2 separate regions of the Homo sapiens genome follow, and region 1 is linked to region 2. The links are contacts of gene promoters, found by promoter capture Hi-C in blood cells and fetal thymus (Javierre and others, 2016). All regions are on one chromosome and are shown on one strand. The core of a region is centred on a gene start or on the middle of the fragment in contact, and the rest is flanking DNA. Distances in the headings are between cores, read along the strand shown. Region 1 has its middle 32 kb from the start of LINC02757. Region 2 holds the start of LRRC32-AS1 (LRRC32 antisense RNA 1).

Evidence for each region. The method cuts DNA at HindIII sites, captures the fragments that hold promoters and counts their contacts. A CHiCAGO score of 5 or more calls a contact.
Region 1: a contact is called between a fragment that was not itself captured here and the fragment with the promoter of LRRC32-AS1 in region 2, in 1 of 17 cell types (megakaryocytes). The highest score is 7.1, in megakaryocytes.

What each region holds. Positions count from the first base shown.
Region 1 is chr11:76,595,771-76,600,087 of GRCh38, forward strand. No RefSeq gene overlaps it. Among named protein-coding and RNA genes, the nearest start is that of LINC02757, 32 kb to the right of the region's middle. RefSeq lists an enhancer at 1,557-2,208 and a silencer at 2,839-2,918. The HindIII fragment of the contact is 1,545 bases long and covers 1,899-3,443 here.
Region 2 is chr11:76,654,854-76,659,037 of GRCh38, forward strand. LRRC32-AS1 (LRRC32 antisense RNA 1) reads left to right here and starts at 2,143. Exons shown (of 3, transcript NR_199061.1): 1 at 2,143-2,303. It overlaps LRRC32 (leucine rich repeat containing 32), which reads right to left. Exons shown (of 3, transcript NM_001128922.2): 3 at 2,671-4,184. The HindIII fragment of the contact is 4,024 bases long and covers 134-4,157 here.

The DNA of each region.
Region 1 (4,317 bases), core at 1,421-3,920, 59 kb before region 2:
GGGGCCTGTCGGAGGCTGGAGGATGGGAGAAGGGACAGCTTCAGGAAGAATAACTAATGGATGCTAGCTTAATACTTAGGTGATGAGATGATCTGTACAGCAAATCATCGTGACACACGTTTACCTATGTAACAAACCTGCACATCCTGCACATGTGCCCCTGAACTGAAAATAAAAGTTGGAAAAAAAAATCCCAATGTCAGGGTCTCACCCCAGACCAATTAAACCAGAGTCTCTCAGGATGGGGCCCAGGCACTGGTATTTTATGAAGACTTGTTACTGGATTCCTATTTTTTATTTTTATTTTTTTGAGACAGGGTTTTGCTCTTGTTGCCCAGGCTGGAGTGCAGTGGCGTGATCTCAGCTTATCGCAACCTCTGCCTCCCGGGTTCCAGCGATTCTCCTGTCTCAGCCTCCCGAGTAGCTGGGATTACAGGCATGCGCCACCATGCCCGGCTAATTTTTTGTGTTTTAGTAGAGACAGGGTTTCTCCATGTTGGTCAGGTTGGTCTCGAACTCGCCACCTCAGGTGATCTGCCTGCCTCGGCCTCCCAAAGTGCTGGGATTACAGGCATGAGCTGCTGTGCCCGGCCGTTATCGGATTATTTGTGCAGCCAGGTCCACCTCAGTGGACCATAATGCAGTCCTAATGGTCATGGCAGCAGGGCCTGGCCTGCACAGTAATTTGCACTGATCCTCCACCCTCCCTGCACCCCAACAGGTTTTATATTATCTCATGTCATGGGTTGAATCACATCCACAAAAATTCAAACGTTGAAATCCTGACCCCCAGAGCCTCAGAATGTGACCTTTTCGGAGATGGGATCTTTACAGAGGTCATCCAGGTAAAATGAGGTCATCAGAGTAGGCCTTTGTCCAATAAAACTGTCCTTGTAGGAAGGGGAAATTTGGAGACAGACACACAGGGAGAACCCTGTGTGAAAACGGAGGCAGAGACTGGAGTGATGCTCTCACAGGCCACAGGACGCGGAGGACTGCCAGCGAGCACCAGGAGGCAGGGAGAGGCGCAGGATGGGCGCTTCCTCTCAGCTCTCGGGAGGAAGCCCCTGGTGACATCTGGACCTTGGGCTGCAGCCTCCAGAACTCTGAGAGGACACCTCCCTGTCGTTTCTGCCCAGTGTGTGGCACTGTGCTATGGCAGCCCTGGCAAATGGATCCATCTCCTTTTTACTGATGAGTACAGCCAGGGTTGGGAAGTCACTCCCGTGAGCACGGTGGCCTCGCTGGCTGGAACTTGTTGCTCAGCCACCTCTTAAATGCCGATCCCCACCTCCACCTCCCCATTCCATCCTCCATCCAGAGCCCTCAGCTCTTCAGGCATTCATCATTTATGCACCTTTGAGGCAGGCAATGCTCCAAGCACAGGGCCCAGCAGAGAAACAAACAAACAAACAAACAAGCAAGCAAGCAAACAACAGACACCATTCCTCCACGTGGGGAACAAACAATAAGGAAGGTGAGTGACAGGTTAATAGTATGTTCCATGGTATACGTTCCACAGGGAAACTGAGGCACAGAGGGGGATAGGGAGTGTGGAATGGTGGACTTTTAAACAGGGCGGTTTGGGAAGGCTCACTGGGAAGGCACCCTCCTGGTCACTGCCCCTTCCCACACTGTAGCCCACTCCATGGAGGCCTCCCAGGCCCTCCCTGCCCAGGCTCTCTACCCAGTATCTCCCCCAGGACTTAAACTGCCCAACCCCAACTCAGCCTCCCCCATGTGCTCCCCACAACACATCCCAGCAAATGCCACCACCATCCATCTGCTTAGTATTCAAACCAGAAACCTGGATGCAAATTAGACCTCCCCAACTCTTGCCCTCACTCCATCTGGCCCTGGGAACTAGAGGTGCTCCCTTCATGAGTGCGGGAGACGCAAGCTTGGTTCCCCCTCCGGTCGGGCAGAGCACCCCAGTGGCAGGGGAGCGGGGACGGCTGTTTCCATAACTGGACCCAGTGGCCATGTCTAATCCCCTGTACAGACTCTGTCCTCTGCCTTCAGAGCCCATGGTCAGGCCCTGAGCCCTGCAAACCCACCTCCTCCTCTGTACCCACCAAATGCTGTGCCCCTCCCAGGGGCCTTCCTTGCCTTGACCAGTGAGAGCCAGTGGATGCCATGGACCAAGGCCCAGCAGCAGTCAGGGAACCCAGTCCCACCCCTTTCTGGACCTTCGTGTCCTCATCTGTAGAATGGGCAAAATTCCTGCCAGGCTGACCCTCAGGAAATCTTGGCTGAGTCAGTGGATGTGAACGGTGCTGCTCTGGGTGGTGTGGACACGTGGACCAGCTGGGGTGAGGGGCAGCCAGGGTGGGAAGCTGTGTGGGTTAATGTGGACCAGCCAGAGGCAGCACCTGTGACCCATGCACATGCGTGTGTCCATGGGAATGGGGAGGGGGAAAAGCCACGTTCTAGGTGGGCTCACCTGGCACCACCCACACCAGTCTGTGACAGGGCAAGATGAAGGAGAAAGAGGCTGCTGCTACCCACCTGCCTGCCTGCCCACTTCCTCCCTGACTCCTGCATGAAGAAAGGTGGCTGAGGGACTCCCCTAAATGTGCCAACCCTCACTGGGCAAGCCTGGGGCTGGGAAGACGTGTGAGGTCAGCAGTCCTGGGGTGGGGGGCCTTCCTTTGCTCCTCTGTGCCCCTGGGGTAGGGTGGGCTGCAGCATCATCTCAGTGCTGGGGGGTGACTAGCTCCCATCCTGCTAGGAGACTTTGTGCCAGCCACCCGGCTCCTCTGAGTTGACTCCCTCATCTACCTAACAGGGGTGATCATGCTGCCTTGGGTGGTGTTGAGAAGACTAAATGATACATGACACTTGGTCCCAGGACCCTCTTGTGACCTCTGGGTCCTGGCACCACTCACTGAGGTTTGCCCCTTGGCTCCTTCAGCATCCTCAAGTCACCCCTAGAGGTCTCTCTAACTGTGCGCTCCAGCTTAGTAGCCACCAGCCGCACGCGGCTACTGGGCATCTGAAATGTGGCTGGTCTGAAACGAGCTGTGCTGTGGGTGGAAAAGACACACCAGGTTTCAACAATACAAAAAAAAAAAAATGAAATACAACATTCATAATTTTTAATACTGATTACATGTTGAAAGGATAATATTTTGATATATTAAGTTAAATATATTATTAAAATTAAGTTCACTTGTTTCTTTTTACTTTCTTAATGTAGCTACTGGAGAAATGTCATTACATCCGAGTCTCACATTCTGTTTTATTGGATGGCCCTGCTCCAGAACCTTGGAAAGGCCACTTCCAGGGCATCTTCCTGGTGGCTCCCAGGAAAAGCAGCCCCTGGGATTTCCAGCAGCTGCTGAAGAATGTCTGCTCCCCTGGTGGCCCCAGGCTGCAGAACACACTCGCTGTGGCCTCACCCGCTCCCCACCCTTTCCCGCACATCCCATAGCCTCCCAGGAAGCTTAGACTCAGCTAAGGGACCCTCCCTGCTGCCCCCACCATGAGGGTAGCCAACAAAGCCTGCGGCCCCCTCCCCCAGCTGCTAAGAACCTCATAGCTGTATGGGAATTACCCTGGCGTCACTTTCTCCTTCCCAGCAGACCCCAGGGATGTGGCTTCCTTGCCCCAGGCCCTGAGTCACCCGCAAGGAATCCCCTCTCCTCTGGAGAGGGTTCTGCGGGCAGGAGGCAGCCTCTGTGGTCCTGAGGAGCATGGCTTCAGGAGTCAGAGAGACCTGGAGGTGAGTCCGGGCGCTGCCTCGTGCTCACCGTGTGGCTGGGGTAAGCCCCTCCTGTCTGCACCTCAACTTCCTCACTTATGAAATGGGCGTAATCACCGCGCCCACCTCATAGAGCTGTAGGGATGTCATCGAGGCATGGCGCTCTGCACAGCTCTTGGTTTGTAGTAAACAGCAGTTGTTAAAGGACCTGAAAGAGTTAGGGATGTGGCCTTTGACCTCAGGCTCACTAGGCCAGCCACAGAGAGGAGGCAGGTGCCAAGGTGGTGGGCCAGGGAAGGGTGGGGAGCAAGTGAGGCAGGAAGGAGGCAGGGGGATGGTAGCTCCCTTTCAGGCCTCAGGCTCTATGTAGCCCAACAGATAGCCCGGCTGGCCCATTTTCAGATGAGGAAAGTGAGGCTCTTAAAAGTGAAGCGACTTCCCCAAGGCTAGTGCTGGGGATTGATTTGGGGGCTACCTGTATCCAAGGCCTGTGTTCTCTCTGCCATCCTGTATTGTGAAGTTTGAGAGGAGTTTCTGGAGGAAATAAACACAAAATGGTTTGAGAAGAAGTTTGAGCTAATATAGTCCCTTTCCTGCAGGTGGTTTTGAGCCTT
Region 2 (4,184 bases), core at 893-3,392:
TTCTTTGCCTCCCCACTGGCCCCTGCTGCCGTGGGCAGCCCACAGTCTGCATTCCCCTGTCCTCTCTGTGTCCCCTAGGTCTGTTCAAAAAGCCTCCTCACCACACTCTCTGAGGGCTTGTCTCAACTCCACAAGCTTCTGAGTCCTGGAAGACAGGGGCCATTCACTCAGAAAACCTTTTCTGAGCTGGCTTTAGTCTGTGTTGGCTCACAGGCCCTGGGGACAGATAGGACTCCAGGTAGGACCTCCCCCCAGGACCTCCTGGCCTGGTGGGTGGGTCAGGCAGACACCCAATGCTGAGGGCAGCCCAGACCTGTGGGCAGCTGGAGGAGAGAAATCCAGACAGTCTCCCCAGAGAAGGTGATGGAGGTGATACAGGCGAGGGTGGTGAAGGAGATTGTGCAGGTGGGTGGGGGGGTGAGCTGGTTCCGGCAGAGGAGGCGGGAGAGGTGCAGGAGGCAGTGCTGCCTAATGGTTAAGACTGCTGGCTCCAGAGTGGGACAGCCTGGGTTCAAGTCTCATCGCTGGAGCTCAGTTCTCTAAAATGAGGATGGTAACAGTAGAAATCTCTTCAACGGCTGTCAGAATTAAACATGACAATCCACATCCAGTGCTCAGCATGGGCCCGCCCGGAAGTGCTCAACAATGGCCATCTCTGAGCATGTTGTGAGAGGTGGCGGGAGAGAGATGGGCCTCATGGGCTCAGTGAACTGCCTGAAGGACAGGGGCACAGAACACAGACGGTGGGTCCCAGATCCTGGAGGATGTGGCCAGCCTGTGGGTCTGAGAGGGTGAGTTGCTGGCGCGTCCCGGGACCCGTTCCTGGTGGAGTGCCACGCCAGCGCATGGAACCCCAGGAGTTGGGCCCTGCACCTCAGGCTGACTGTGACCTGGGAGTGGCAGGGCCTCCCCTCTCCCTGCAAGCTAAGAGCTCGGGAAGCTGGATGTTCTGATGACCTAGTTGGCTGCTGTGTCCACGTTTGGCTGAAAACAGGAATTTCTGCCTCACCGGGGGTCTTGGCCAGGTGAGCAAACTCCCTGTTTGTCAGGAAAAGGGGTCAGGGGCCTGCTGGGCTCCCTGCTGGAGCAGAGGCCCGCAGACCCTAGGCGAGCTCAGCCCAAGCTCCTGCTTTCCCCTTAGGCCTTCACGGAGCACCTATCGTGTGCCAGGGGGTGGGGCTCTCTCCTTTCTCCCCCAGCCCTACCCCATGAAATAGGTGTTTAGAATTTCCCTTTGCAGACTGGGAGCCAGGAGCAGGAATGGGGAGGTGAGAGGGCACGGACCAGAGAAACGGAAGAATCTCCAGGAGGCAGAGCTGCCAACGCTGGGCCCAGGGGCTGCAGGGCCAAGGGGAGGGGTCCAGGCTGACTCGGGGTGGGCAGGAGAAGCATCACTGAGCAGGAGCTTGGGGGAGAGGCAGTCAGGGAAGGGAAGGGCAAAGGCGCAGTGCCAGGCTGCTGACAGGGCGAAATGGAAGGTGTGAGGGCCAGAGGAATAAGCACCCCCTGCTCTGCATGCTCTGCCCTGGCCTGTCACGCCTCTCAGTGCTCCCCTACCCAGGTGAGGCTGCTTCTGTCCCACACCCGACACTCACCCTCCAACTCCAAGCCAGGAACCAGGTGTGGTTTTCTTCCAAGTTCAACCTTGATCTGCAGCCTGGCTGATCACTGAATTCTCCAGTCCCTGGGGACCTTTAGCCCTCTACCTGGGAAGGCCTCTGGGTAGCAGAATTGGACTTTCAGGAGAGGTGGGGCTGGAGACAGAGATGTGGGCCATCAGAGCAATGGGGTGTTTACAGCAATGAGGCCATAGTGTTCCCAAGGGAAAAGGGCTTAGGATGGAGCCCTGGCCATCACCACTTAAAGCTGGCTCAAGGAAGATGAGCAAAGAGTGGCCTGAAAAGGAGTGGCCTGGGAGGGAGGAGATGGCTTCCTGTGTGGGATCACAGCTGTGGGGAGAGCATGCCCAGCAGGGGTATGGGTGGGGGGCCTGCTGCACAGGGCCTAGGGAGAGGAGGTCTGAAAAGCGTGCTGAGTTTGGCAAAGGATACCCTTGACGCTGTTAGCAAGGGCAGCATGGAGCTGGGAGGGGCTGAAGGCAGCTCCAGGCGGGTTGAGAACGGGAGGGGCGGGAAGGGAAGTGACTTTACCAAGAACCTGGCCTGTGAAGAGTGGGAGGACGAAGGGGAAAGTGGCTGAGGGGCTTCTCACTATTTTTAAGACGGACAAGACTTGAGTCCAGCTGAAGTCTGAGAGGAAGACGTAAACAGGGAGAGGCTGGAGGCAGAAGAGAGCATGACGGGGTAAGGGAGAGAGGACGGGGCTGGGGACCCCAAGGAGGAGGGGCAGTGCAGCCTCTGAGATAGGGCACAGAGGGCTGAGCACAGAGAAGGGGAGGGGGCCTGTAGCTGTAGCAGGAAGGAAACAAACGGAAGCCCTCAGCCTCTCAGCCCTGGGGTGGGGAGCACAGTCGCCTGTTGAGTGTGGGGCAAGAGGTGTAGCAGGGGCCATGCTAGTGGCTGCGGCTTCAAGGTCCAGGGTGGTGCTGGCCCAGAGTCTCAGTGTCCCCAGGGATTTGCCATGATGATTGAACGACCGTAATGGGATTGAGCGGCAGGGTTCTAGTGGACGCAATGAAGCGGATTGCAAAGAGGAAGCTGGCAGCCACACTGCTTCTCCAAAATTAGTTTTTAATACATTCAGGTAGGTTATACAAAGAGTTGGTCCCGAGGCCTGGGCTGAGGCCTGGGCCCTGGGAAGTGACAGCAGCCCTGTGTAGTGTTTTCAAAGATCAGGCGTGGGGACCCACACCTTGGCCTCCAGGCCTAAGGAGGAGTGTTACGTGCAGTAGCACCCGTGGGTGTGATCCCAACCAGGACTGGGTCTGCCTGGGTGCTCCACACACCACCAGGGCCTAGCCCTGGCTCTGCCCATTGACTCTCCCTTAACTTCCTCTGGGCCTTGGTGTTCTCCTCTGTAAAATGGGGTGGAGAGAGTGGCATTTTCACTTTCTCGCACATTACTGAGCCCACATCATGAGCCAGACTGTGGGCCAAGCACAGGTAAGATGATGAAGACAGCAAAACAAGGTCTTGAGTTGGTCCCAGCACGTCCATTCTTCCCAGACAGCTCATGACTCCATGGTATGAGGGATGGGGGTCATCTGGGTGAGGCTTTTTACCTGTTTTTGTAAGAGGGAAAAAAGATCCTTGCATGATGAGGCACAGAAAGGAAGTTTGGAGCCAGCATTATCTTGTGATGTGATAGCTGAGAGAGGACATCACTCTGGTCCAACCCCCAATCTCACCCCACAAATAAGGGCTCTTTTTTCCCCCAGAGGCTCTGTATAAGCTCTCCACAAGTTTCATTCTCTTCCTAAGCCTCAGTTTCCCCATCTGTGCAATGGGGAGGTTGGATTCCATAGTCTCAAACTCCAGGCTCTGCTCAATAGAGGAAAAGGGAATGAGAGAATGCAAGAGCACAGAGAGAACAGGAGAACCCACACCAGGGTGGAAAGGAAGGGAGGAGGGAAACAGGCAGAGAAGGAGGAGAGCGCCTGCAGCTGCCTGCCTGGGAGAGAGGAGAGAGCAGGTGTGCACAGCACAGGATGCTTCCAGACCCTGCTCGGGCTATGTGGGGCCACTTCCTGTCCACTTAACGGCCTGCAGCCCCTGCAGTGGTAAAGATCAGGCCCTGGAGACAGAAGGATGAAGGTTTGAATCTCACCTATGGCATTAGTTAGCTGGGGCCCTGGAAGGAGATTTTCAGAACTTCAGTTTCCTCTTTTATAAAACGGGGATAAAATATAGAGCTGTCACATAGGGGCAGACACAAGGCTTGGATTCAAATCCACATCTGCCAAGCTGGGTGCAAAACAGAACCAGATATCTAAGGTTTTAGCTCCTGGCTCAGCAGCCAAGGTGGGGCTGCGATGGAGAAGTGGGGCTGGGCAGGGACGGTGCTTAGAGCAGCACTGGGGTCAGGGTATGCAACATGAGAGTGCCAGGAAGGGAGAGGGCAAGTCCAGAGCAGGAGACGGAATGGTCCAGTGCTGGGCTGGACCCCTTAACCAGACCCTGCTGGAGCCGCCGTGGCCCACCTAACAACACCAGATCCGAGACACACTCGTACAGCTCCAATTCTCTCTTCTGGTCCTAAGCTTTTCATTTTCAGAGAGACTGAAA